7 separate regions of the Homo sapiens genome follow, and all the other regions are linked to region 5. Evidence: promoter capture Hi-C in human tissues and cell types (Jung and others, 2019). All regions are on one chromosome and are shown on one strand. The core of a region is centred on a gene start or on the middle of the fragment in contact, and the rest is flanking DNA. Distances in the headings are between cores, read along the strand shown.

The links. Contacts are between HindIII fragments. The study calls those that stand out against the background at their distance.
Region 1: a fragment that was not itself captured here is called in contact with the fragment with the promoter of SOX2 in region 5 in 2 of the 25 tissues and cell types used here (aorta and dorsolateral prefrontal cortex).
Region 2: a contact is called between a fragment that was not itself captured here and the fragment with the promoter of SOX2 in region 5, in 1 of the 25 tissues and cell types used here (liver).
Region 3: a contact is called between a fragment that was not itself captured here and the fragment with the promoter of SOX2 in region 5, in 2 of the 25 tissues and cell types used here (dorsolateral prefrontal cortex and lymphoblastoid cells).
Region 4: a contact is called between a fragment that was not itself captured here and the fragment with the promoter of SOX2 in region 5, in 3 of the 25 tissues and cell types used here (dorsolateral prefrontal cortex, mesendoderm cells and neural progenitor cells).
Region 6: a fragment that was not itself captured here is called in contact with the fragment with the promoter of SOX2 in region 5 in 2 of the 25 tissues and cell types used here (lymphoblastoid cells and thymus).
Region 7: a contact is called between a fragment that was not itself captured here and the fragment with the promoter of SOX2 in region 5, in 1 of the 25 tissues and cell types used here (lymphoblastoid cells).

The regions. Positions count from the first base shown.
Region 1 is chr3:182,103,785-182,107,177 of GRCh38, forward strand. No RefSeq gene overlaps it. Among named protein-coding and RNA genes, the nearest start is that of LINC01206, 150 kb to the left of the region's middle. The HindIII fragment of the contact is 7,214 bases long and covers 1-3,393 here.
Region 2 is chr3:182,082,994-182,086,725 of GRCh38, forward strand. No RefSeq gene overlaps it. Among named protein-coding and RNA genes, the nearest start is that of LINC01206, 130 kb to the left of the region's middle. The HindIII fragment of the contact is 4,458 bases long and covers 1-3,732 here.
Region 3 is chr3:182,217,080-182,220,899 of GRCh38, forward strand. No RefSeq gene overlaps it. Among named protein-coding and RNA genes, the nearest start is that of LINC01206, 270 kb to the left of the region's middle. The HindIII fragment of the contact is 5,463 bases long and covers 1-3,820 here.
Region 4 is chr3:182,199,697-182,203,264 of GRCh38, forward strand. No RefSeq gene overlaps it. Among named protein-coding and RNA genes, the nearest start is that of LINC01206, 250 kb to the left of the region's middle. The HindIII fragment of the contact is 3,991 bases long and covers 1-3,568 here.
Region 5 is chr3:181,710,524-181,713,957 of GRCh38, forward strand. It overlaps SOX2 (SRY-box transcription factor 2), which reads left to right and starts at 1,402. Exons shown (of 1, transcript NM_003106.4): 1 at 1,402-3,434. The coding sequence starts at 1,838. The coding sequence ends at 2,791. The region is part of intron 6 of SOX2-OT (SOX2 overlapping transcript); the gene reads left to right. RefSeq lists enhancers at 1-684, 685-1,537, 1,538-2,391, 2,392-3,243, a promoter at 630-1,663 and a silencer at 1,243-1,302. The HindIII fragment of the contact is 19,833 bases long and covers 1-3,434 here.
Region 6 is chr3:182,023,085-182,026,545 of GRCh38, forward strand. It overlaps LOC105374242 (a long non-coding RNA gene), which reads right to left. Exons shown (of 3, transcript XR_924755.2): 3 at 2,646-2,868. Among named protein-coding and RNA genes, the nearest start is that of LINC01206, 72 kb to the left of the region's middle. The HindIII fragment of the contact is 3,587 bases long and covers 1-3,097 here.
Region 7 is chr3:182,043,067-182,046,690 of GRCh38, forward strand. No RefSeq gene overlaps it. Among named protein-coding and RNA genes, the nearest start is that of LINC01206, 93 kb to the left of the region's middle. The HindIII fragment of the contact is 3,356 bases long and covers 1-3,077 here.

The sequences.
Region 1 (3,393 bases), core at 857-3,356, 390 kb after region 5:
GAATTAATAAGAGGATTACATGAGATAATTAGTCTAAAAAATGCTCTGTAATACAAGGTAGTAATAATAATTCTTGCTGTAATCTATGGAATGCCTAATATATGTTGGGCATTGAACTGAGTGCTTTAAATACATTGTCTTAAATCTTCAAATTCTCTTGTTAAGGTAGGTATTACTAACTCTTTTACAGAGAAGGGAACAGGTTTAGAGAGGTTAAGTGACTTGTCCAAGCTCATAAAGCCTGGTAAATGTCTGAACAAGGGTTCATATTCAGGTCTGTTTGACTCCCAAGCCTATTTGGCATTTGAACTGTTTTTTGATATATTTCCTTGCTTTCATTAATCATTGAAGGCTCTCTTTGGACATGAACCATCAATAATAATGATGATGCTAGTAATAAATTAAAATACGTATTGGCTGGTTACTATGTGATGTGCCAGGCACTTTACATGTCCTGGGCACTTTACATGTAACAATCCATTTAATCCTTATAACTGTATGTGGTAGGTGCTGTTATTGTCTTCATTTTATAGATGAGAAAATTGAGGTACAGAGAGGTTAACTAACTTGTCCACCCCAGTAAGTGGCCAAGCTAAAATTCAAACCTAGACAGTCAAGTGATTAAATTATTTAGAAGATAAATAAACTATTGGAAAGCAACAAGGGACTTCCTGACTTTTCGTTAATAGAATGCATAATGTAAGGTTTCCCTAATAGGTACAATTTACAAAGAGATGAATATACAGTATGCCTTTATGTCCCAAAGCCTTGACAAAATTGTTTCTATTTGGAGAATATTTTGTCTCTCATGAAGTGAAGTTCAAAAATAAGCCACATCTATGCGCATATGTATTCATTTAACTCTGTAAAAATTACTTTCCTGAAGATCATATAAATTCTTAGTCACATAAATGGTACATTGACAAAATGTCTCCTTTTATTTTGGTCTCAACCCAGGAAGCTATACAAATAAGGGTTTCTTATTTTTCTTATTAATTTTCCAAAAGAGTTTAAGATTTGGAGGCTTGTTGAAACAAATCTTTTTAGCAAGATTAATTTTAAAGTTAGACATTATGAGTATCAAATTAAGCTGTCAGCCTGTGAAATGATACAGAGAAAGATGTGTTACAACAATCCCCTCCTCTCCAACCTCTGTAGAGATGGGTAAGTCTGAACAGGAAAACCAGAGGCCAGGAATCACATTTTAGTAATTCTTTTCTAGTTATGTCAGATTTCTAGCATGCTATTAGAGACACATGTGTCATCTTCACCATCAACCAACATATCATTGCTGTTTCAAACTGTTACTAGAGCTGTTGACACAGAATATTGTGTCTGTCGACAGCTCCAATTAGCTGGCGTGTCTGACTGGTGACAGCACGGTCTACTTTTGTTTACAGGGATGGTGGGAGCTGTATCTCCGTCTCCCAACCTCCAGTGGCAGACAGATGGATAGAGCTATATAATCATCAGTGGAAGTGTGTGATATTCTGTCTTCACAAACCATCGTGCAAAGCAGAACCAACGGCCTTTTGTCTGCTTTTAGAAATGTCTGCAAGAATCCCTCCCACCTGTCAAGTTATGGGGATGAATATGTATAAAATGCATCATGTATGTGTACCTGTAGAAAACACTGGATTGGGATGTGCAGAGGAAATAAAGCAAACAGTTTTTTAAAAAGCCAATGTGATATTTAATTTGTATTGTGGCAACATTAAATATATGTTTGCCTCAGCACTGCTTCTAAAAACATCTTTTATTGAAATTTTTTTAAAAAAATCAACCAATTAATGTTTTATTATTATTTACCAGTAAAATTACTAGTAAAAATTATTAAATTGCATTTTGTAATTTTTGACATTCTCTACTGTGTATGGCCTTACTTTGACATATAATGGTTACATTGGCTTGGAATTCTCTATGATATGTCATCTTCTCTACTAATTTTCATCCTTTCATCAATGGAGGCACATGTCAGAGGTTGATGTTCACAGGCAAAAAAACCAAAACAAAACAAAACAAAAAAACACCTTAGTAAATGTATCTGAGGATGTGTGCAGTTCAGAGTACATGGCTTGTAACTCCATTATTTCCAACAGAAAGAAGTGAAATGTGATACAAGTAATTGAGGATGATACAATTATATGGATGGTCTAGAATTATTTTTAAAATTAAACTGTTCTTAAACTTCTTTAGTTTTTTCTTATTAGTTTTATTATGGCATGAGTCAAGACTAACCATTATATGGCTGGAAACCACTAACTCCATTCATTTCCTGTTCTCCGTTAACTGCGACTCATCCCTCAGGTTTCAGCTCAAATGCCATTTCCTGAGAAAACATTCCCAGAATCCTCGCCATACACACTTACAACACTATTCCTTTTATTTATGATATTTATTGCAATGTGGAATGTCCATTTGTGTAATTATTTGACTAACATTTGCCTCTTCACTGAGTCCTATGAGAGCAGAGAACGGGTTGGTGTGGTTCACCATTGAATCTCTGGTGCCCAGTATCATGCCTGGTACCCAGCTAGGACTCAATACAGATGTGTTAGATGAGTGCTGTTCAGGTGGATTCATAATAGAACTTCCCATATAAAAGAAATACTACTCTTCTGGTTTCCTAAGACTGGAGCTTCTTGTGAGACAGTGTTTGTGTGGTGTGTGTGTGTGTGTGTGTGTGTGTGTGTGTGTGTGTGTATGTGTGTGTGTGTCTAATTACACCTCCCAAATTAGCACAGAACTAGATGTAGGTAGGTGATAGTGGGGGCCAGGGGCTATGTTCCAGGTAGAGGGAGTCACATGTATGAGGCTATATGTGGGCTTCCAAGAGCCCAGCTCTACACATGGCAGGATTGAAGGGGAGGCCTAAGAAGAGTAAGACCAAGAAAGAGGCCATCAAACAACAGACCATCTACAGCTGTTGGAGGTCAACCTGAAACTCTGTCTTGGAAGACCTTGAGGAAGATTTCTTTTTACCTTCTATTAATGGATAGTAAATATATTAATATTGGTCTTATTAATACTGTGTTCCAGCAAACATGGGAATAAGACTCACTCTTCTGAAGCCTGGTTTGATAATCGTATCCCATATATCAAGTGGATAGGTAGCACGAAGGAGAAACAAACATTTGTTGTTTCAGGTGACTGAAATTTTGGAGTTATTTGTCATGGCGGCATAGCCTAGTCTGTCATGACTGATATGGAAATCTTTGCATCATACTGAGTTATTTACATATTTCTACATATCAGAGTATACAGTGAACAAAAACCATGTTTTCATTTTTACTGTTCTACATTCAACAAATTGGCTGCCCTTTAGTGAGAGCTTGAAACCCTTTTCTGAATAAATGTTTAGAATTTGAAAATCAGTATTTACTGGACTAATGG
Region 2 (3,732 bases), core at 456-2,955, 370 kb after region 5:
TTTTCTATAGACTTTGCTGTTTTCCTCACAGAGGTTGGGAAGACAGAGATGATTATTATTATAAGCTAAAAAATAAATCTTCAGCAATTAGGTTTGGCCATGAAAGTTACATTATATCTATAAATATAATTTTTTTCAAAGATCCTCAGATGTCTTTGGATATACATAAAGTGCTTTGCTTAAGAATTTCCAATCTAAAAGCACTCACAGACAGGAACCAAGCCATGCTGCAGATGTGGGGATTTCAACCCTGTTGGCATTAATGGCTCTGTGAAAGCAGCATACTTTATCTTAGTCGATGATTCACAATGTTTGTGCATAGCTTTGAGATGTTTTAGCAGAACTATTTACCCCACAATGTCCAACTAAATGCAACAGCAATGGGATTGTGGAAAGTGTTCATAACGTGAGGTTTGAAAATAAAGTAAAGCTAGCCAAACAATTGGAAGTGGAAAGGAAGTGTTGGTTGTTGCTTGGACATGGAATGAATTTTGTCCAAATGAATCATTCTACAGGACAAAGAGTGAATTACCTAAAACACAGTACCTATATGAATTACAATAATCATAGAGGAAATAATTATGTGAACGCAAAATCTTTCGAGGGGGTGCCTGGGTGGTAGGTTTCAAGTCTTTCCAAACAATAAGCAATTGTTAACTGTGTAACCCCAATACACTTATATTTATTGATTATATACAACGTACATATACAACTATCACTAGCTAATATCTCAGGGCAAAATTCACATTTGAGGCAAGACAATTCATTAATAACAGTGGATATAAATTGATTGGAGGGGGACACTGTCTTGTCAGATATGATAAGATCGTTAATTTTTTCTCTGTAATGTGATGAACAAAGAGCTTATATTAGGAGTGGGAGAAGTGTCATCTCTGCCATTTTCTTGTTGTTTATATGTGCTTGCATAATTAATATTCTCTTTGATTCTCACAGCATCTTTGCAGAAAAAATTAAAAAGCCAGGTGCTCGTTTTGAAAGCGTGAGCATAAACTAGAAAATATAGTCTGGAAATGTGCTGAACTGGGGACACACTCCAGTAAGTTGTAGTGTGACAAAGGAGGAAAGAGAGGCCACCACTGTTGATCCCTTCACACTCTGGGGGATCACACATGCCCTCTTCCCTCAGAGCATGCGGGCCAAGTAAGAATAACTGTCAACTCCTATATTACACACTGGTAAATATTAATTCTTTTTGACTTTTAAGATAAACATTTTTGTTAATAAAAGTGCTGGTAGGCCAGGAGTGGTGGCTCATGCCTGTAATCCCAGCACTTTGGGAGGCTGAGGCAGACGGATCTCCTGAGGTCAGGAGTTCGAGACCAGCCTGACCAACATGGAGAAACCCTGTTTCTACTAAAAATACAAAATTAGCTGGGTGTGGTGGTACATGCCTGTAATCCCAGCTACTCAGGAGGCTGAGGCAGGAGACTCCCTTGAACCTGGGAGGTGGAGGTTGCAGTGAGCAGAGATCGTGCCATTGCATTCCAGCCTGGACAACGAGAGCAAACTCTGTCTCAAAAAAAAAAAAAAAAAAAAAAAAAGCTAGTAATTTCTCTCATTTTGGAAACCCTTGATGTAGAAGATCAGCTCAATTTCAGGCATCTATTAGCTTGATATTCATTCTGAAGAGGGGTAAGTTTGTCCAAGTAATTAAAGGCTAAAATGGTGATAAAACCTTTAGTAAGCTTTATTTCAGAGGTTCAAAACTTGTTTGAATTTGGGCAACATGGAAGAATCCAGATAATGAATGAATAATAAAGCCACTATGGGATTCCCTGTAACATAAACTGGGGAGAGTGACATCTGCCTTAATATATTTTGATATATTTAGGTAAAAATATTTAACACAGAATTAAGGAAGAGAAGCATGTGACTGGTTTTAAAGTGTGAAGGACAGATTTAATCTCCTACTTGGTGGATAGTTATTATAACTTCTATGTCTAGTGGTATGGCCAGCTAGAAGCACTGGCTGACTCTCTTGCTAAAGAAAACTGGATAAGTACCATATAACATACATAAAGAATCTTTGTAAAGGCACTGATGAGCTGGCAAGAAGATGAGGATTCCTGACAGGTCAAATACTGAGTGAAAGTAGGAACCCAGAGTGGCAAGCTGAGCACACTGAAGCATGTTCACACACTGCCCTGAAGCTGGTTGAACGTCAGTGACTTTGAGTGTCAGTTTTCATACTGCTGACAGGAGGTAAAACATAGGTCCTACCTAAGGAGGGGAATTTAATCAGGGGACCTCCGACATAAAGCTAAAGCCCCAAAAGGTCATAGCCTCCAAGTAAGGGTGAAAAAGAAAAACCTGTCTTCCAAGGGGAAATAAGAAAAACGGCCTCTTTCAAGTCTTGCTGGTGGGAAGAGAATAAAAATATTTCCTGAGTATTCTCAGTCATCAGTGAGTCCTCACCTAGGTTTGTGGCCCCAAAACATGCTATCTGGGTGTGCTGAAAATCTAAAGCCAATAATTAGGTTTAAAGTGGTCCTAGGTGAGCTAGGCTCATGTGTCTAGGACAGAAGACACAAATCTGGAGAAACTCGCTTAAAACTCAGACCCAAATAATTCCCATGTATATTTAACTTCCAATAACCATGAGCTCATAATCTAAAAATCAACTAATACCTGGAAAACAATACACCATGAACATGAGCCAACAGAGACAGATCTGCAAAGGCTTTCCAATATTTAATTGGAAATATTTTTATTCCCGTAATTGTATGTCACATACTGTCAAATAAATACGTTTTATGTATTTAAAGGAAAAAAGTAAGAGAATATAATTAGGAGTAAGGTGCAAGAAACTAAAAATTTTTCAAACAAATTTAAAAAAATTAGAAATAGTAATTGAAATGACAAATTCAATGGATGGCATTGATAGCAGATTAGACACCGGTGAAGACAGAAATTACGTAGCATGCAACACACAGAGAAATTTTAAAAAATGAATAGTTAAGAAACATGTAGGTAGAGTTTCAGAAGAAAAGAGAGAGAATGCATCGGAGAAAGAACATATGAAGAAATGATGGCTGAACATTTTCCAGAAAATGAGAAACACACTTCTTAGATATGGGAATTTTAAAGAATCCCAAGAATAATAATTAAAAATAATTCAGGACCAGGCACAATGGCTCCTGCCTGTAATCCCAGCCCTTTGGCAGGCCAAAGTGGAAGGATTGCTTGAGCCTAGGAGTTCAAAACCATCCTGGACAACATAGTGAGACCCCATCTCTATAAAAAAAAGGAAAAAAAAATAAGAATATTGGCTGAGTGTAGCAGTACTCACCTGTAGTCCCAGCTACTCAGAAGACTGAGGCAGGAGGATCGCTTGAGTCCAGGAGGGTCAAGGCTACATACAGTGAGCCATCATTGCGTGCCACTGCACTCCAGCCTGAGCAACAGAGTGTGAGCCTGTCTCAAAAAAAAAAAAAAAAAAAAAAGGAATTTCCATCTACACTCATCTTAGTGAAACAGTAGAATAATGAAAACAAAAAGAGGCTCTTAAGGTCAGCTAGAGACAGAAGAGGGGTTATCCATACAGGCAAAACAATTAGACTGTGACCAACTTATCAGAAACAACAATGAAAGCCAGAAAAACAGTGGAATGGTACCGTCAAGATGTTCAGAAAACCGGGAATTGTATACTCTATGAAAATAATTTTCCAGAAAAAAAGGATGAAAACAAATTTCTAACAAATACATATTCAA
Region 3 (3,820 bases), core at 96-2,595, 510 kb after region 5:
GCAAGTCTAAAATAGGGTTAGTTCCTTCTCCCCTAAAGCATTTTTCCACATTCTCTTTGTCTCATGGAAATGAAGATTCAAAGGAAAGTTTCAGAAGTGATACATGCCCATTTTTTTCCCTAAATTTAGATTTGAACCTCAATGAATACTAATGGAGAGAGTGAGCCAATATAAAATAGTGTTTTTCAAAGACTGATAGAGTACCCTTCTCAGAATCAATTGACGTCTTTGTTAAAAATGTAGATTCCAGACTAGTTATCTTGACCCTCTGGGGAGGAGGCCCTGGAATCCCCACGTTTAACAGGCTTCCTGGAGGACTGACTCTCACACAAAGATACTGGAGAAACTCTGATGAATGAGGATGAAATTTTCTGAACTTATTTTGCCTGCAAACAACACCAGCTAATTTTTAAAACAAAGCAATAACAGGTTGAATTAAAATTGACAAATGAGAAGACGGAGTACCTAAAAACATTTCTGATTGAAATTCAGTTGTCCTTTGATATCTGTTTGGGACTGGTTTCAGAAATCCCCTGTGCATAGCAAAATTTGAGGTTGCTCAACTCTCTCATACGAAATGGTGTAGTATTTGCATATCACCTATGTACAACCTTCTGCACACTTTAAATCATCTCTAGATTACTTATAGTATCTATACAATATAAATGCAAATGTAAATAGTTGTTATACTGTTTTTAATGTTGTATTCCTATTTTTATTTAAAAAAATATTTTTATCTGCAGGATCCGCAGATGCAGAACCTGAGGATACAAAACCATGAGTATAAAGGGACAACTGTAGTAGCAAACTCCAATTTGCAAACAATCATTTTACCAAGTTTGATCCTAGGGCTAGTCTAAGCTTACCAATGTGTTAGGGACCATCTAATAATTTAGAAAGAAAAAAGTGTGTGTGTGCGTGTGTGTGTGCATGTATCACCATCAAGTAGACCAAAATGTTAAATAACCGCAAAACAATAGGGTCACAGAATCATGAATTACATCTCTTTGATGCATAAAAGTGCCAAAATAATCTCAATACTCAGGAAGACTCACTGTATATTAACCAATATTGTGTGCCCACCCTGCTGGACACTGCCCTAGCCCCTAACGTACAAAGATGAATCAAACATAGTTCATCTCTCCAGCTCACTAGTGCCGTGATTCTTAAACAGTACAGGCTTCCAGAGCCCTTTGAGAGTCTGATGAAACTTAAAAGGTTTTACCTCGAAAAAATGCAACAACACTTGATTTTGAATATGGTTTCAGGGGACTGGTGGAGACTTCACTTAAGAATCTCTCATCAAGAACAGGCACAGAGTACGAATTGAGGAGGCTCTGAATTCCGGAAGGTTGGTGGTGTTCCCTTCCCACAGATGTTTCAAAATAAAATTTAACTGTTTTAAAGACATAAAAATGAAGTGTTCTACATTAAAATTGCATCTTTCGAGGTCTTCTAATTGCACATTTCTGCTTTTGTTTGTTTGTTTTTTGTGTTGATGGTTTTAGTAGTTTGTTTTGTTTAACGCCTCTGCTTTGCCAGAGCCCAAAGTGTGTATTTAATTTTCCTGTGGATAATTTAGCAATAAGCTGGAGGGAAGCATTGGTCTTCACACATATTTATTACATTACAATATAGGATGCTACAAGCTCTCAGAACGATCTGGGAGTACAGAGCAGAGGGCATGGGAAGAAAGTTTCATCTCAACACAGTTATCCAAATATAAGTTCTGAGCTCAAATGGAATGTTCTATTAGTGGTGCTAAGGGAAGGAAATGACTCTCAGTTAACAGGCAGTATCCCCAGGGTGCCCTCAACAATCCCTTTGGGCTAACCAGTTAGAAAGGGCATATGTGAGGCTGGTATGGAGAACAAAAAGGGAAAGGCATTTGGGTAGCATCAGATGTTCTGTCCTGTTTTCCAACAAAAGATACCATTGAATGCCTACTAATGGTGAGGATAGGGGCAAGGTAATGTGTGAGCCAACATGAAGCTGTGGGCAAACAGAGGACAGCAATGGGGAAAGATGAATCAAGTGAGAGAAAAATCCTGCCACACAATAAAGGAATGGAAAGGGAAGTGGATAAGGCAAGGACAGAGAAAGTGGCCACACTTGGAGGACTGTGCTTTGCAATTTACCCAAATGTTGCTAACAGAACAAAGAGGCTCCCAGAGCAAAGACCCAAGTGACCTGGGTTCCCATTCAAAAAAGATTTCCATTCTTATTGTTCAAGTTATTTACCTCATAAGACATTTGTTTTTAACTCTCTCACACACACTGACCCATGTCTTCTCAATCACCATCTGCTTTCACCCAAACATCCAGAGAAGAGTTGACTGTTTATTTATACTCTGCCTGTTTCCAAAATGGATTTAAGGCAGTGGAGCCAAGAGGTAAGTCAAATTTCAATGTTAAAAATTCATCACTCTAAGATTTTTTCGTATCTTTAGCTAGACAATACCCTATCATTAGAATGTTATGTTAGGGCTTCCAACACTGTTTATATTCAGGTGCTTCTTTCTGCTTATGTAATAGAGAAAAGAGATCTCTTGTCCTCAACTCTATGCCAGTTGCTTTTAAATATTTCAAGGCAGGGTATCAGGAACCATATTTTCAGATGGAGAGTCAGCATGCATGTGAAGTTCATGGTGATAATAACTACCATTTCAAGTGTACCTGCCATTTTAACATAGAACCATATTGAGTTCTCACAACAATCTTTTAAGGAATTTATTGCTAAAATGTCTTCATTTTATTTTATTTTATTTTATTTTATTTTATTTAGTTCACATTCTATAGATGAGGAAACTGAGGACCAAAAAGGGATTTATTGACTTGCCTGAGGCACATTGCTAATAGGTAACAGGTTCCAAAGGCAGGCCTCGCTGAATTCAAAGCCCTGTGTTTTGCTTGAGAGTGCTTTTCCTTTCTGAAAATAGGGAGATGTTGGCAAAGGTGTGAAGCATCAGAGGTAGCTCTCAGTACCTGTGGCCCTAATGCAGAAATGGATACTTGCACAGAGCATTTCTTCTGAAACACACCTTTGCTATTAATCCACCCCAAGGGTTTTATTCACTCTGTCCACCTAAATGAACAAGGTTTGCTTTAGCATCACTTATGCAATGTAAACAGCATCTTTCCCCATGGGAATCTTTTTCCCGTTTGAGACTGTTGGTTCAGGCCTGGATTTGTGCATGTTTTGCCTGGCAGATCATTGCCATGAACAATTTAAGTGACTGTTCAACAGAAAGGTAAACACACTGTTTTCAAACACCAGTGTTTTCACATACCATTGCAGAAGTAAGATTATTAAATTAAGACCCTCAGCTGCAAATTTTGTTTTTTATACAGTACTTTAACTTTTTTAGGGGGTAGAAGAAGTCTGGATGTAATTCAAAGGGAAATAGGGATTTAGTAGGATCCAATCAGGAGTTAATTAGCCCTTTATATGCCAGGAGCCTATGAGTATTCTTCAACTAATCCTTGGTTCTGTAACTTGTGCCTAGAGGAATTTTGAGTCCAGGGTAAAAGTCAGAGATGCCACCAAGATTCTGGGATGAGTACTCAGAACTGCGTTAGCAAATCAGCTCTTTTGTGGAATGTTCCCCTGTTTCCACATGAATTGACATGGCTTTGTATTTCACCAGCCATTCTCTTCTAAGTTAGTGACTGAGCAATGGTTCTCAAACTGTTTCTAAAAAATGAAAGAGGGACTTCCACTCCCCTCACCAATGCCTGATATGAATCTTTTGCTCATTATCCATTTAAGAACATCTTTATCTCAATAAAAATAGTGATGTTTTCAACAAAAGATTATTTT
Region 4 (3,568 bases), core at 683-3,182, 490 kb after region 5:
TTTTGTGTACACATATATTTATGTATCTACAACTCTGCTGACTTCAATGTTCCATGGAGTGATTGACCTGGGGCCATTGCTTGTTGCGTGTGTCAGATGACCGTGTGTTTCACACAGTCCAGGAAGGACAGTAAGGGAGTGAAGGCAGATCGCATCACAGGTGGCTGACGGGGCACCCTCATGTGTTAGGCTGCCTTCAGCACATTATAAGGCATTATGGTTTTCTTGTGTTCGGCTAAAAGGAATTGTGGATTATATTATTTGGTGTAACTAAAGTATCACTTACAAATTGAATGAGTGGCTTAAAAAGATCCCTATAGTAAAACCACATACAGAAATTCATAATAATAATGCAAATTCAAATGAACAAGGCAATGGCAAAGCCAGCATGTCTCCTAGTAAAATAGCCACACTAAGTTAAGGATAATGACAATATGTTTAAGCTTTGATATCATTAATAGCAAGCATAAAAACAAAGTGAACTTAGAGCTAGATCCTATTATAAACTGATTAGTCAGGATTTTCATAAAACATGAAGCATACTCAATTGTTCTTGTTAAAATACTATTAGTTGTATTTTTGAAGGCGAAATATAAATAATTATAAGCAAAATATTCTAATTTATGTAAAATAAAATTTGTTTTATATTTATCAGATTCTTTTGAAATCCCTGTTTTTGTGCACATTTTATAATGTATATAATATAGTGGTAGTGTAGAAAATATATATAATAAATCAATGGATATGCATATTTTGTGGATACATGGTCCAAATTGTGAAACTGTCGGGGTGTATGATCAAAGAAGTTTGGCAACCACTGGTTTCAAGGACCGGATCTGAAAATATGTATAAAGTCCCAGGAATAGCACTTGTCACCAGTGGTTGTCAATCTAACGCACTAAGGAATTTCTACTGAGGTGACTGTCAGTGAGAACTAAGAGATATTTTTAAATTCACTTCAGTTTATACCAAGTCTTTATGAACAACCTCATTCTTGGTAGGATATTTATATCACATCTGAGGGCACCAGAGGAGTAGCCAGTGATCCACGGGCTAACTCCACTTTTCACCAGTACAGAGAGAACGGAAGGAGGCATGGTAACTTGATGGACTTGAGGCTGGTTGATTTCTGACTCATCCAGATAACTTATCCAGAGAAGTGACGATGATTTCATTTCTAGTAACGAAAGTGACAAGTGATATAAAATAAAAATATAATGTAACAATGCTTAGATAAGCCCAATCCGTGTCTAACTCACAGAAATTTGGATTTTGGCAATGAAAGACTTTAAGTAAATATAGCGATCGGCTTATATATTTATATAGCAAATTTTTTTTCTCAGATGAATTAAAAATATCATTTATTGATCATACATCTTCTCAGGTCAAGTAATAAAAGTTTTTTAAAAAAAGCAATCATAGTTGTTTCGCCTTCCATTATTAGATGGTTTCAATACAGGATTAGAGAATTTAGCATAATTCTTCCCCAGCTTTGCCGCAGAGCCCCTGCATTCAAGGTATTGTTACACTGAGTGAGAAAGACTGTTGTGAGAAGGAGGGAGAAGGGGAAATTCACAGCTAGAGAATATTCAGGACCCACATTTCGACTCCTCAAGTGTTATCTCATTAAATGTTTTGTATCTGTTAGGCATTCATATTTGTAACCTGTTAAGTAAATTAGCAACCTTGCTTCTTTCTTCCCTATTCCCTCCTTATTTTCTTCTTCAACATAGGGACATTTAAAAGAAAATCAATAAATGAACAAACACAAAGAAAAATACTTGTTTGGAAAATAATTTTGACCCTAACTCTTATTCTTGAGGGATTAAATGATATAAGAGCGAGGGAAGAACTGGACAAATGTGTCTCTCATCTTTTCTCACTTTCCGCCTTTCTTGGACTCTCCTCTCCATCTACTGGAATGTTAAAGAGAGGAAGTTCTTTGGCCTATACATAGTTGGCTCATTCAAATTCCATATGCATTCAGCTGTGCAACTGGGAGAGGCCCTCTGTTTCCTTGGAGCGTTGGGGAAGCCAACATAATTTGATCAGTGAAATTATCGAAGGTGATATTTAAAACAAACAAAAAGCAGAAAGGCTGGGACCTAGAACAAAACAGTGGTTGAGAGATTTCAAGGAATTTCTTCTGACAGGTTTTTGAGGAATGTGTTTTCAAAAATCATAATTCACCCGTCGTTTCTAAACGGAGCACAGGGAAACAGCAACCCCTCTCACCGTCCAAATGCCTGTGCTGCCGTGTGACTAAACACAGCCTCTGCCACTTTTCCAGTTCTGATTTTCTAGCTGTGTGAGAACATCCAGCCATTTAGGGGGTGTCACTCAGGCTTATCCTTTTAATCGGAGCCCTTAGAAGAAATGCCAGTTTGTTTTTGGAGACAGTTAATCTGACGGAAGTAAATTCAAGTTTTGGCAAAGATCTGTGGTAAGATAGAGTGAAAAGCTGCCAAACAGTATTATAAGAAGAAGAAGAAAAGGTACGACCTCCCCAAGTCAAATGCCAGCACACCTACACCAGTTTCAATCAAGCCGTAGAAAAATAAGATATTTTTAGATGTATTAAGCCTTAGTGCTTCTTTGCCCTGAGGGCTGTTTTATTGCCACAGAAAGAGCCTGTAATCACTTTTCCATGAGGTTTTTATAATTTAATATGAAATGAGCTTCTAGAAAAACTACACTTCAAAACAAATCTGAACAGTTATTCCTCCACCTCACCCCACTGACCACAGACGCCAACCATTTTCTCTCACTTTGCTTCATCTCAGAGCCCTTTCCCGCAGCTCTTCAGACAGCTGTCCAGTTCTGCAGGCTTCAGATCAATGAATGCACCTCCTAGTTTGGGTTGCCTATGCCCATCATACTGGTTGAGTTATTGTTACACTGCTGAGCTGATGGCTAAACTGAGGCTCCAAAAGAACTTTTGGCATCTTGGCAGCAGAGCTGAGCGTCAAACCAAAACCTCCATTGTCAGAGTTACCTGTGGATGGGATCTAGGTGATGCTCTGGCCTAATACCCCCCTCTTATAAACAAGGAGACTGGAATTCAGGGTGGCTGTGGTGGACCCAACATCATGCAAGTCGTTAAGTGTTAAGTAGAGAGTATGGGTTAGAGCCTGGGTTTAGCCCATGGGTTTTTCCGTTTCACCTCTCTGGACTTTTTATTCATACCAGAAAAATAGGAGTGCTCGTTCAAGGAATATAAAGTGCTTCTTTTTCCTTCTTCTGCCTCTTCATCCACGGACAGGTCACAGGAGTCCTTCTCATGCCACACTGTGGTTTGTGAGTTTTCATTCCCTGGAGTGCCAAAGAGAATGCTGCCATGAGCATCCCTTTACCGAATTCACTCTGGTCATGGGGCAGAGGGGAGGGAGAGGGCAAGGAAGTTCCAAATAACACTCCCTGCAGCAAAGGAGGAGGAGTGGGGAGGATAGGCGATTGGATTCCTTTAATCCCATGTTACAACTGAAGTCACCAAATGGAGTCAAATATGCTCACAACAGCAATCCCTGTTTGCCAGGAACTATAATTTGAGCCATATGAAACTACCCAC
Region 5 (3,434 bases), core at 152-2,651:
ACCTATTGAAATCTTTACGTCGGGACAATGGGAGAGCGGCTAAAATTACCCTCTTGGGTCCTGGGCGGGCAAGATTCCTGAGCCCCTACCCCCGCCCCCATCTCATCCTCCTCTAACCCGGGCCTTGCTGGGCTCCCCCTTCCCCAGTCCCGGCCGCCTTCTCCCAGTGTGCGCTGCCTGCACCTGTGCCTGGAGAGCATCGACCCCGCCTCCCAGGCCTTGAGCCCCTTTGCGGCGCAGCCCCAGCCTTGCGCGGCCTGGGCTTTGCGGCCACCACAATGGAAATCTACGGGGAAAATGCCAGGGCTGGTTCTGCTGGAGTCCTGGGAACTCTGCGTGGGAGGGAGTTTGTGACTGCGGCCCAAAAGCCACCTCCATACAGTGCCGTGGGATGCCAGGAAGTTGAAATCACCCTCCCCCATCGCCTGCACTTTTGAGCGCCCTTCCGTCTGTGTCTTTCCCCAGCCCCCATTTGAAAGCCGCACGACCGAAACCCTTCTTACGGGGAGGCATGGGATGGGAATGGGGAGTGGGGGCAGACAGTAGAAGCATCCCCTTTGCTACGGTTGAATGAAGACAGTCTAGTGGGAGATGTGGCTGGGGCTAAGAGGAAGAGCTGCAGTTTCCTGGGCCAAAGAGCTGAGTTGGACAGGGAGATGGCAGCTTACCAAGGCCTGCTGGTTCTCAGCTCTAGAGTCTGCCTTATGGTCCGAGCAGGATTTATTTTTAAGAACAGAGCAAGTTACGTGGAAGCAAGGAAGGTTTTGAGGACAGAGGTTTGGGTCTCCTAACTTCTAGTCGGGACTGTGAGAAGGGCGTGAGAGAGTGTTGGCACCTGTAAGGTAAGAGAGGAGAGCGGAAGAGCGCAGTACGGGAGCGGCACCAGAGGGGCTGGAGTTGGGGGGGAGTGCTGTGGATGAGCGGGAGAACAATGACACACCAACTCCTGCACTGGCTGTTTCCAGAAATACGAGTTGGACAGCCGCCCTGAGCCACCCACTGTGCCCTGCCCCACCCCCGCACCTTAGCTGCTTCCCGCGTCCCATCCTCATTTAAGTACCCTGCACCAAAAAGTAAATCAATATTAAGTTTAAAGAAAAAAAAACCCACGTAGTCTTAGTGCTGTTTACCCACTTCCTTCGAAAAGGCGTGTGGTGTGACCTGTTGCTGCGAGAGGGGATACAAAGGTTTCTCAGTGGCTGGCAGGCTGGCTCTGGGAGCCTCCTCCCCCTCCTCGCCTGCCCCCTCCTCCCCCGGCCTCCCCCGCGCGGCCGGCGGCGCGGGAGGCCCCGCCCCCTTTCATGCAAAACCCGGCAGCGAGGCTGGGCTCGAGTGGAGGAGCCGCCGCGCGCTGATTGGTCGCTAGAAACCCATTTATTCCCTGACAGCCCCCGTCACATGGATGGTTGTCTATTAACTTGTTCAAAAAAGTATCAGGAGTTGTCAAGGCAGAGAAGAGAGTGTTTGCAAAAGGGGGAAAGTAGTTTGCTGCCTCTTTAAGACTAGGACTGAGAGAAAGAAGAGGAGAGAGAAAGAAAGGGAGAGAAGTTTGAGCCCCAGGCTTAAGCCTTTCCAAAAAATAATAATAACAATCATCGGCGGCGGCAGGATCGGCCAGAGGAGGAGGGAAGCGCTTTTTTTGATCCTGATTCCAGTTTGCCTCTCTCTTTTTTTCCCCCAAATTATTCTTCGCCTGATTTTCCTCGCGGAGCCCTGCGCTCCCGACACCCCCGCCCGCCTCCCCTCCTCCTCTCCCCCCGCCCGCGGGCCCCCCAAAGTCCCGGCCGGGCCGAGGGTCGGCGGCCGCCGGCGGGCCGGGCCCGCGCACAGCGCCCGCATGTACAACATGATGGAGACGGAGCTGAAGCCGCCGGGCCCGCAGCAAACTTCGGGGGGCGGCGGCGGCAACTCCACCGCGGCGGCGGCCGGCGGCAACCAGAAAAACAGCCCGGACCGCGTCAAGCGGCCCATGAATGCCTTCATGGTGTGGTCCCGCGGGCAGCGGCGCAAGATGGCCCAGGAGAACCCCAAGATGCACAACTCGGAGATCAGCAAGCGCCTGGGCGCCGAGTGGAAACTTTTGTCGGAGACGGAGAAGCGGCCGTTCATCGACGAGGCTAAGCGGCTGCGAGCGCTGCACATGAAGGAGCACCCGGATTATAAATACCGGCCCCGGCGGAAAACCAAGACGCTCATGAAGAAGGATAAGTACACGCTGCCCGGCGGGCTGCTGGCCCCCGGCGGCAATAGCATGGCGAGCGGGGTCGGGGTGGGCGCCGGCCTGGGCGCGGGCGTGAACCAGCGCATGGACAGTTACGCGCACATGAACGGCTGGAGCAACGGCAGCTACAGCATGATGCAGGACCAGCTGGGCTACCCGCAGCACCCGGGCCTCAATGCGCACGGCGCAGCGCAGATGCAGCCCATGCACCGCTACGACGTGAGCGCCCTGCAGTACAACTCCATGACCAGCTCGCAGACCTACATGAACGGCTCGCCCACCTACAGCATGTCCTACTCGCAGCAGGGCACCCCTGGCATGGCTCTTGGCTCCATGGGTTCGGTGGTCAAGTCCGAGGCCAGCTCCAGCCCCCCTGTGGTTACCTCTTCCTCCCACTCCAGGGCGCCCTGCCAGGCCGGGGACCTCCGGGACATGATCAGCATGTATCTCCCCGGCGCCGAGGTGCCGGAACCCGCCGCCCCCAGCAGACTTCACATGTCCCAGCACTACCAGAGCGGCCCGGTGCCCGGCACGGCCATTAACGGCACACTGCCCCTCTCACACATGTGAGGGCCGGACAGCGAACTGGAGGGGGGAGAAATTTTCAAAGAAAAACGAGGGAAATGGGAGGGGTGCAAAAGAGGAGAGTAAGAAACAGCATGGAGAAAACCCGGTACGCTCAAAAAGAAAAAGGAAAAAAAAAAATCCCATCACCCACAGCAAATGACAGCTGCAAAAGAGAACACCAATCCCATCCACACTCACGCAAAAACCGCGATGCCGACAAGAAAACTTTTATGAGAGAGATCCTGGACTTCTTTTTGGGGGACTATTTTTGTACAGAGAAAACCTGGGGAGGGTGGGGAGGGCGGGGGAATGGACCTTGTATAGATCTGGAGGAAAGAAAGCTACGAAAAACTTTTTAAAAGTTCTAGTGGTACGGTAGGAGCTTTGCAGGAAGTTTGCAAAAGTCTTTACCAATAATATTTAGAGCTAGTCTCCAAGCGACGAAAAAAATGTTTTAATATTTGCAAGCAACTTTTGTACAGTATTTATCGAGATAAACATGGCAATCAAAATGTCCATTGTTTATAAGCTGAGAATTTGCCAATATTTTTCAAGGAGAGGCTTCTTGCTGAATTTTGATTCTGCAGCTGAAATTTAGGACAGTTGCAAACGTGAAAAGAAGAAAATTATTCAAATTTGGACATTT
Region 6 (3,461 bases), core at 54-2,553, 310 kb after region 5:
TGGTTGCAACTGGAACTATTCCATTTACTCTGGGTTTAACAATTATTTCCTTGAGAAGGCAATAGGGATTGCCAAAGGATAAGGGGAATAAATGGGGATATGATTTTACTTTTGTAACTATGATCATTAAAACCATATACATACATATATCTACATCATATATTTTTCCACACGTTATTACATATTGAAAACTAAGACTTAGGAGAAATGCAGAGTAGAAAACATAATTGACAGAACTGAACACCTTTCATCAAGAAGAACAGTGCATTTTTCTGGCCCTGCAACAAATGGTCTGAGCAAGTTGTCGAAGCCCTGTTGTAGACTACATTTTTTTTCCCATCCATGTTCCTTATTTCCAGAATGAGATGTTATGATAATTACTGGGACAAGGTTAGCAAATGAATCTAGAGCTCTGTGGTAGAGGGTGGCACTGGAAATCAAAGTATGATTCTGTTTTGGAATTTTGACATTCTAAGATTTATCTAACTTCTCTGACTAAAGCTTCCTATACAGACATAAATACCAGACCCTAGTGCCTGTAAAAATTCCATTGCTGGTTACTGCTCTGTGGTCGTTAGCTGGAGACCTTTGATGTTTTCTATCTACAAAGTTTCTAAACTTTCTGAGAAATAAATAAAGCATTCATTATTTTACCCTTTACATTTAGCGCTTTAATTTTCTAATTCCACCTTCCCCTTCCCCCATCTTTCCCACTTTGCAGATCTCACAGGTGTCTGGTCAGACCCGTCAGGTGGGTCTCTGTTTGCCTGTCATTTGGGAAGCTGATGGTCTTACCTGGGCATGGCTGATTGCACAGAGCAGAACAGGGGTTAGTTTGAATTGCAGGTGTGAGCAATCAGTGTAGATCAGCACTAATCCATCAGCTATTAGAACAGCCAAGCTGCAGCAGACCCAGCAGAGAGAGCCAAATGCTGAGTGTGAGTGTGTGTCTGTGTGGATAGTCAATGGTTTCCAGTGCTGAGGGATTTTGCATTTGCAGAACGTGGTCTCCATGACTCTTATAATGACACTTCTTCATTGAGGCCTCACCCTGTTCATGCTGTATGAGAAACCATGGTGATCGGAGACAATAAAGAAACTGATCACATCTTCAGGTGGCTTATAACCCAGAAGGGACACAATGATATATAACACAAGGGGTAACATCTCAGGCTATAGAATTCTGGGTTCAGATAACCATTCTGTTATTTATCGTCTGTTTGATCTTGGGTAAGTTTCTTGTTTTCACTAACTCTCATTTTCTCATCTACAAAATAGCGATAGTACCTATTTCAATGAGTTGTCTCTGGCAAATAGTATGCACTAAGTACATGCTAGTTGATGTTAATTGTACTATTATTATTAGAGAGCAGTGCATGTTAAGGGATATGGAGTAAGAAGAGGAAGATACTCCTCCTGCTCTGGGAGGCCAAGGAAGATTTCGGGGGGGCGGAGTGGGATGTGAAGAACTTGAACCTTGAAGATTCACACATGATCAGAAGGAAGTGGCATAAACAAAGACTGTTCTGGGGCCAGCAAAGAGTTTATTTGGGTTGATTTGACAGTTTGGAGATAAAGGTCTATGGGGCCCAGTTTGTCAAGGACTATGCTCTCTCTGTAAGGTTTTTGTCCTTTCAAAGCAAATTCTGTGATATGAGAGGCCAGGCATCCATTTATCAAAAGATTCCCTTGCAAATATTGTCACTGTGATCCACCTGTCAAGCAAAAAGCCAGGGCACATAAGAAGGCGCACTTTTCTCTTTTGTCAGTAAGGTTGAGTGGCTCAATATGCATTCCTCGAAAAGTATATTAGAAGAACTTTCTATGTCTGGGAGCATTTACTTTTGATTAATTTTAATACCGCAAACCTCAAAATAGGAGGAGGTTGCCCTTGGGATGCTCTTGTGCCTTTAAGCTTCATATCAAAATATGGAACATAGCCTGTGATTTCCATGAAGCTGAAGGCAGCTTAAGGCTGAGATACTCAGAAAGGTGACTTGTTGGCAGAATTGATCACATTGTCAGGTAGATGGAGCAATATATGAAGTAAAAATCATTTGTCATTTATTAGTGGGGAGACTTTGGAGCAAGTCACCTCTTCTTCCTATTACCCAGTGGCTGCATTTGTAAAATTAGGGTGTCACACTGATCATCAGTAAAAAATCAAATATTTCTAAGTCTTTTTCTTAGGCAGCAAAAGCCCTTTAAGTCAATCAACCCAATGCAGAATCCCAATATATAAAGGAAATAAAAGCAGGGTGGAGGATCCTGCTGAGGCCTCAGAGTACTCTGCCTTTTGCCCTACCCTGAGAGTGGGGCAGAGATGGACAACTGGGCCTCTGTGGGTCTGGTGTCCAAGCTGATGAACTTCAGGACTGCTGAGATTCCTCATATTTCAGACATGCTACAATCCTGTAACAGTGTAAATTACCATGACACAGAGGGCTTGGAGGTTTCAATTTTTCCATTAACTTGATTGAAAAGTTTTAGAAAATAAAGTCATCTTCCATGGGCCTCTCTGTTAAAAATTTGCTTAATATTTATTTATACAATGGTTTTTCCCAGACATATTTCACTTGAATATACTAGAGCTCAAACACCAAGTGCCCTTTGAAGAAGGGCATTGAAATACAACAGATTGTATGTATGTTGGAGATATTCAGCTAGGAAGCTATCTTTATTAGAAATGATACTGAAGTGTTTGCAGTAAAAGTCTTGTCTGGCATTGGAACAGAGGTGAGGAAACTTAAAGGAATAGGTTCTCTGAGCTGTAGAAGAGGCTTCCTCTGGAGCTGGTTGACCCTTGTCTATTGATGATCCTCCAAGTGAGAGTAGCTGTGGTCATACAGAAGGGCAAATGCTCCATTCCTAAGGAATTTGAGGAAATAGGAAAGCAGCTGAAAGATGCTGATATCCTAACCCTTCAAAAGTATCCCTGTCCATTCCTGCTGTGTTAGAGCAGTTAATACTAAGTTGGAGAAGATAATGCCTTAAAATAAGGGCTTTGCAAGCCTCCTAGTATTGTTATCCTCCAGCAGCCAACCTTAACTGGAGAAGAAAGTCAAGGCCTTGACTGTCTCTAATGCTACCAAAACCTTGGACCACACTCTAAGCAGGACGATTATGCACAAACCGCAGAATTAATGCATCATAGGCTTAGAAATCATATCCTATACCCAGTCACCAACTACTATCTAAGAATATCTGTGGCCAGGTGGCATGCTCCATCTCAGAGAAGCAGGTGTACAGGCCAGAGGATTCCCATGAGCTTCTTGAGCCACTCAAACTTCACCTTAGTGGCTGGGAAGCCCTGGAGCTAGCAAGGGGACGTGGTTGTCTCCTCTGTAACTCATTTACAGTCATGTATTCAATAACTAGGTTTTATCCGGAAGATTTTATCTTCAGAAAGTCTCAGATTCATCAATAATTCCGTGAGAGTTACACTTGAAATTCTATGATAA
Region 7 (3,624 bases), core at 150-2,649, 330 kb after region 5:
ATCGCTGGGTCAAATGGTGTTTCTAGTTCTAGATCCTTGAGGAATCGCCACACTGTGTTCCACAATGGTTGAACTAATTTACGCTTCCACCAACAGTGTAAAAGTGTTCCTATTTCTCCACATCCTCCCCAGCATCTGTTGTTTCCTGACTTTTTAATGATCACCATTCTAACTGGCGTGAGATGGTATCTCGTTACAGTTTTGATTTGCATTTCTCTAATGACCAGTGATGATGAGCTTTTTTTCATGTTTGTTGGCCACATAAATGTCTTCTTTTGAGAAGTGTCTGTTCATATCCTCTGGACACTTTTTGATGGGGTTATTTGTTTTTTTCTTGTAAATTTCTTTAAGTTCCTTGTAGATTCTGAATATTAGCAATTTGTCAGATGGACAGATCGCAAACATTTTCTCCCATTCTGTAGGTTGCCTGCTCACTCTGATGATAGTTTCTTTTATACTGTGCAGAAGCTCTTTAGTTTAATTAGATTCCATTTGTCAATACTGGATTTTGTTGCCATTGCTTTTGGTGTTTTGGTCATGAAGTCTTTGCCCATGCCTGTGTCCTGAATGGTATTGCCTAGGTTTTCTTCTAGGGTTTTTATGGTTTTAGGTCTTACGTTTAAATCTTTAATCCATCTTGAGTTAATTTTTGTATAAGGTGTAAGGAAGGGATCCAGTTTCAGTTTTCTGCATATGGCTAGCCAGTTTTCCACATACCATTTATTAAATAGGGAATCCTTTCCCCGTTGCTTGTTTTTGTCAGGTTTGTCAAAGATCAGATGGTTGTAGATGTGTGGTATTATTTCTGAGGCCTCTGTTCTGTTCCATTGGTCTATATATCTGTTTTGGTACCAGTACCATGCTGTTTTGGTTACTGTAGCATTGTAATACCATTTGAAGTCAGGTAGTGTGATGTCTCCAGCTTTGTTCTTTTTGCTTAGGATTGTCTTGGCTATATGGGCTGTTTTTTCTTTCCATATGAAATTTAAAGTAGTTTTTTTCTAGTTCTGTGAAGAAAGTCAATGGTAGCTTGATGGGAATAGCATTGAATCTATATATGACTTCGGGCAGCATGGCCATTTTCATGATGTTTGTTCTTCCTATCCATGAGCATGGAATGTTTTTCCATTTGTTTATGTCCTCTCTTATTTCCTTGAGTGGTGGTTTGTAGCTCTCCTTGAAGAGGTCCTTCACATTTCTTGTAATTTGTATTCCTAGGTATTTTATTCTCTTTGTAGCAATTGTGAATGGGAGTTTGCTCATGATTTAGCTCTCTGTTTGTCTATTATTGGTGTATAGAAATGTTTGTGATTTTTGCACATTGATTTTGTATCCTGAGACTTTGCTGAAGTTGCTTATCAGCTTCAGGAGTTTTTGGGCTGAGATGATGGGGCTTTCTAAATATACAATCATGTCATCTGCAAACAGAGATAATTTTACTTCCTCTCTTCCTATTTGAATACTTTTTATTTCTTTCTCTTGCCTGAATTGCCCTGGCCAGAACTTCCAAAACTATGTTGAATAGGAGTGGTGAGAGAGGGCATCCTTGTCTTCTGCTGGTTTTCAAAGGGTATGTTTCCAGCTTTTGCCCATTCAGTATGATGTTGGGCCAATGAATATTTAAGGATATTAATTTACTTCCTCTAATAGTCTTTAAGAAATTCAAAAAATAAACATGTGGAACAAAGAAATAAAATGTCAAACCTTAAGCTTCAGCTCTTACTGATGAGGACTGTGTTTTGGCATTGACCGTATCATTACCTACCTAGTTATGAGGTCATACTTCTGCATAGTTCATTAGAATTTATCTTTAATTTTATAGCAAAGCACAACTGCAAAGCCAACGTGTTTTGGTCAACATTTATTGCATGGGCATTTTTTTTTTCAAGGGCATATATTAAAGAAAACTAAAGGGACAGAGTCTCTCCAAAGTTCTTTGGATTAAGAGTCTTAATGATACTTTAAAATATTTCATTCAGGGTATCATTTTGGGAACTTTCTCTAGCATTCTAATGATTCACAAATTATATGTAATACCATTTCATTTTGAGACAATTAATAGACTTTAAAATTTTTTCTCAATTTTTCTTTCCTTACTTATACATATGCCACTTTGTTTTTAAAAAGGATTTAAGGCAGCCTCTTTTATTAGAACATGCCTTCTCTATATTGCAATATAGTCCTCAAAGCTGAGGAACATATCTGGAGTGGGATATAGGAAAGCACAAATTTAAATTAATTCTCACTAGAATGCTTAATATTCATACCTAAGAGATACCACGGTATAGTGAAAAGCATATCAAATTTTTAGTCAAAAATCTGATTTTCATTCTCTGGCACTTACTTGATGGTGCAATTTTGACAAATCTTTTGGCTTCAGTATTCCCACCTATAAGCTGGAAATAATTTCTTCATCATTGACTTACTATAAGGATTAAATGATTAATGCTCATGAAAGAGTGTCTGGCATCTGGTAGGCACTACACACAATTTATTTATCTTTTTTGGACAGTAAAAATCCCTACAAAAGGGCCATTTTATATTTTTATCTAAAAATAGTGCTTGCATCAGTTTTACTTCTGTAAATAGTTCATTCATGAATAATTCCTACAACTATAATGTGGTTGTAGCTTTCTCATGCCATAATATTTATATTAAAAGCTAATTTTTTTTTTTTGAGACAGGGTCACCCAGGCTGGAGTGCAGTGGTGCAGTCATGGCTCACTGCAGCCTTGACCTCCTGGGCTCAAGCAATCTTCCCACCTTCTGAGTAGCTGGGACCACAAGTGCACATCACCATGCCTGGCTAATTTTTGCATTTTTTTGGTAGAGACAGAGTCCCACTATGTTGCCCAGGCTGGTCTCGGATTCCTGGGCTGAAGTAATCTTCCTGCCTTGGTAACCCAAAGTACTGGGATTACAGTCATGAGCCAATGCACCCAACCGCTAATTTTCTTTTAAAGAATTGAATTTTAAGGGAAAAAAAAGGCTTGCCCTTGATTATTTTTCAGTTGAGAAATCAGTGGTGTGAAGGAGGTATCCTATGGCTTCATTTTAAACACAATCTTTCAGAGTGATGAATGAGGGTATATTTTACGACTTGAGTTTGCTTAACAATTTAAACTTTTACAACCTTTAATTTATGTGTCCCTGAATTCTCTATTTTCAGGCTTCAGCTACTACTTCAATGAATAAGGCATCAGTCCCTTAGACAAATGACAAGGAAATCCTCATATAATCTTAAAAAGAGAGAGAAAGGAATGAGGAAGTGCCTAAGCCTAACAGGAATAAGTCTTTTTCAGAATCCAAGTCCAAATAAATATTTGAATGAGAATGGTGTCTTCATATGTGTAGTGGAAAATAGGTCCTTTTCAGGCTTCAGATTTTGGCAGGCTGGCATGTTGACTTTATCACCTCGGGATCACTGGGGTTTCGTACGCCTTGCCGCAGGCTTCATCATGCGCATGCGCACACCCCCTACCTGTTGGGCGCCAAGACCAGGCCGCAGGCCCAGGCCTGTGAGCCGCTTCCAGGAACATCACCTGGCTGTCTTCCGCCTTGGACCCCAGCCTTCAACTTCCCCTCCCTGTTGTTTAATCAGTCTTCATCAAATGTCATTTTAGC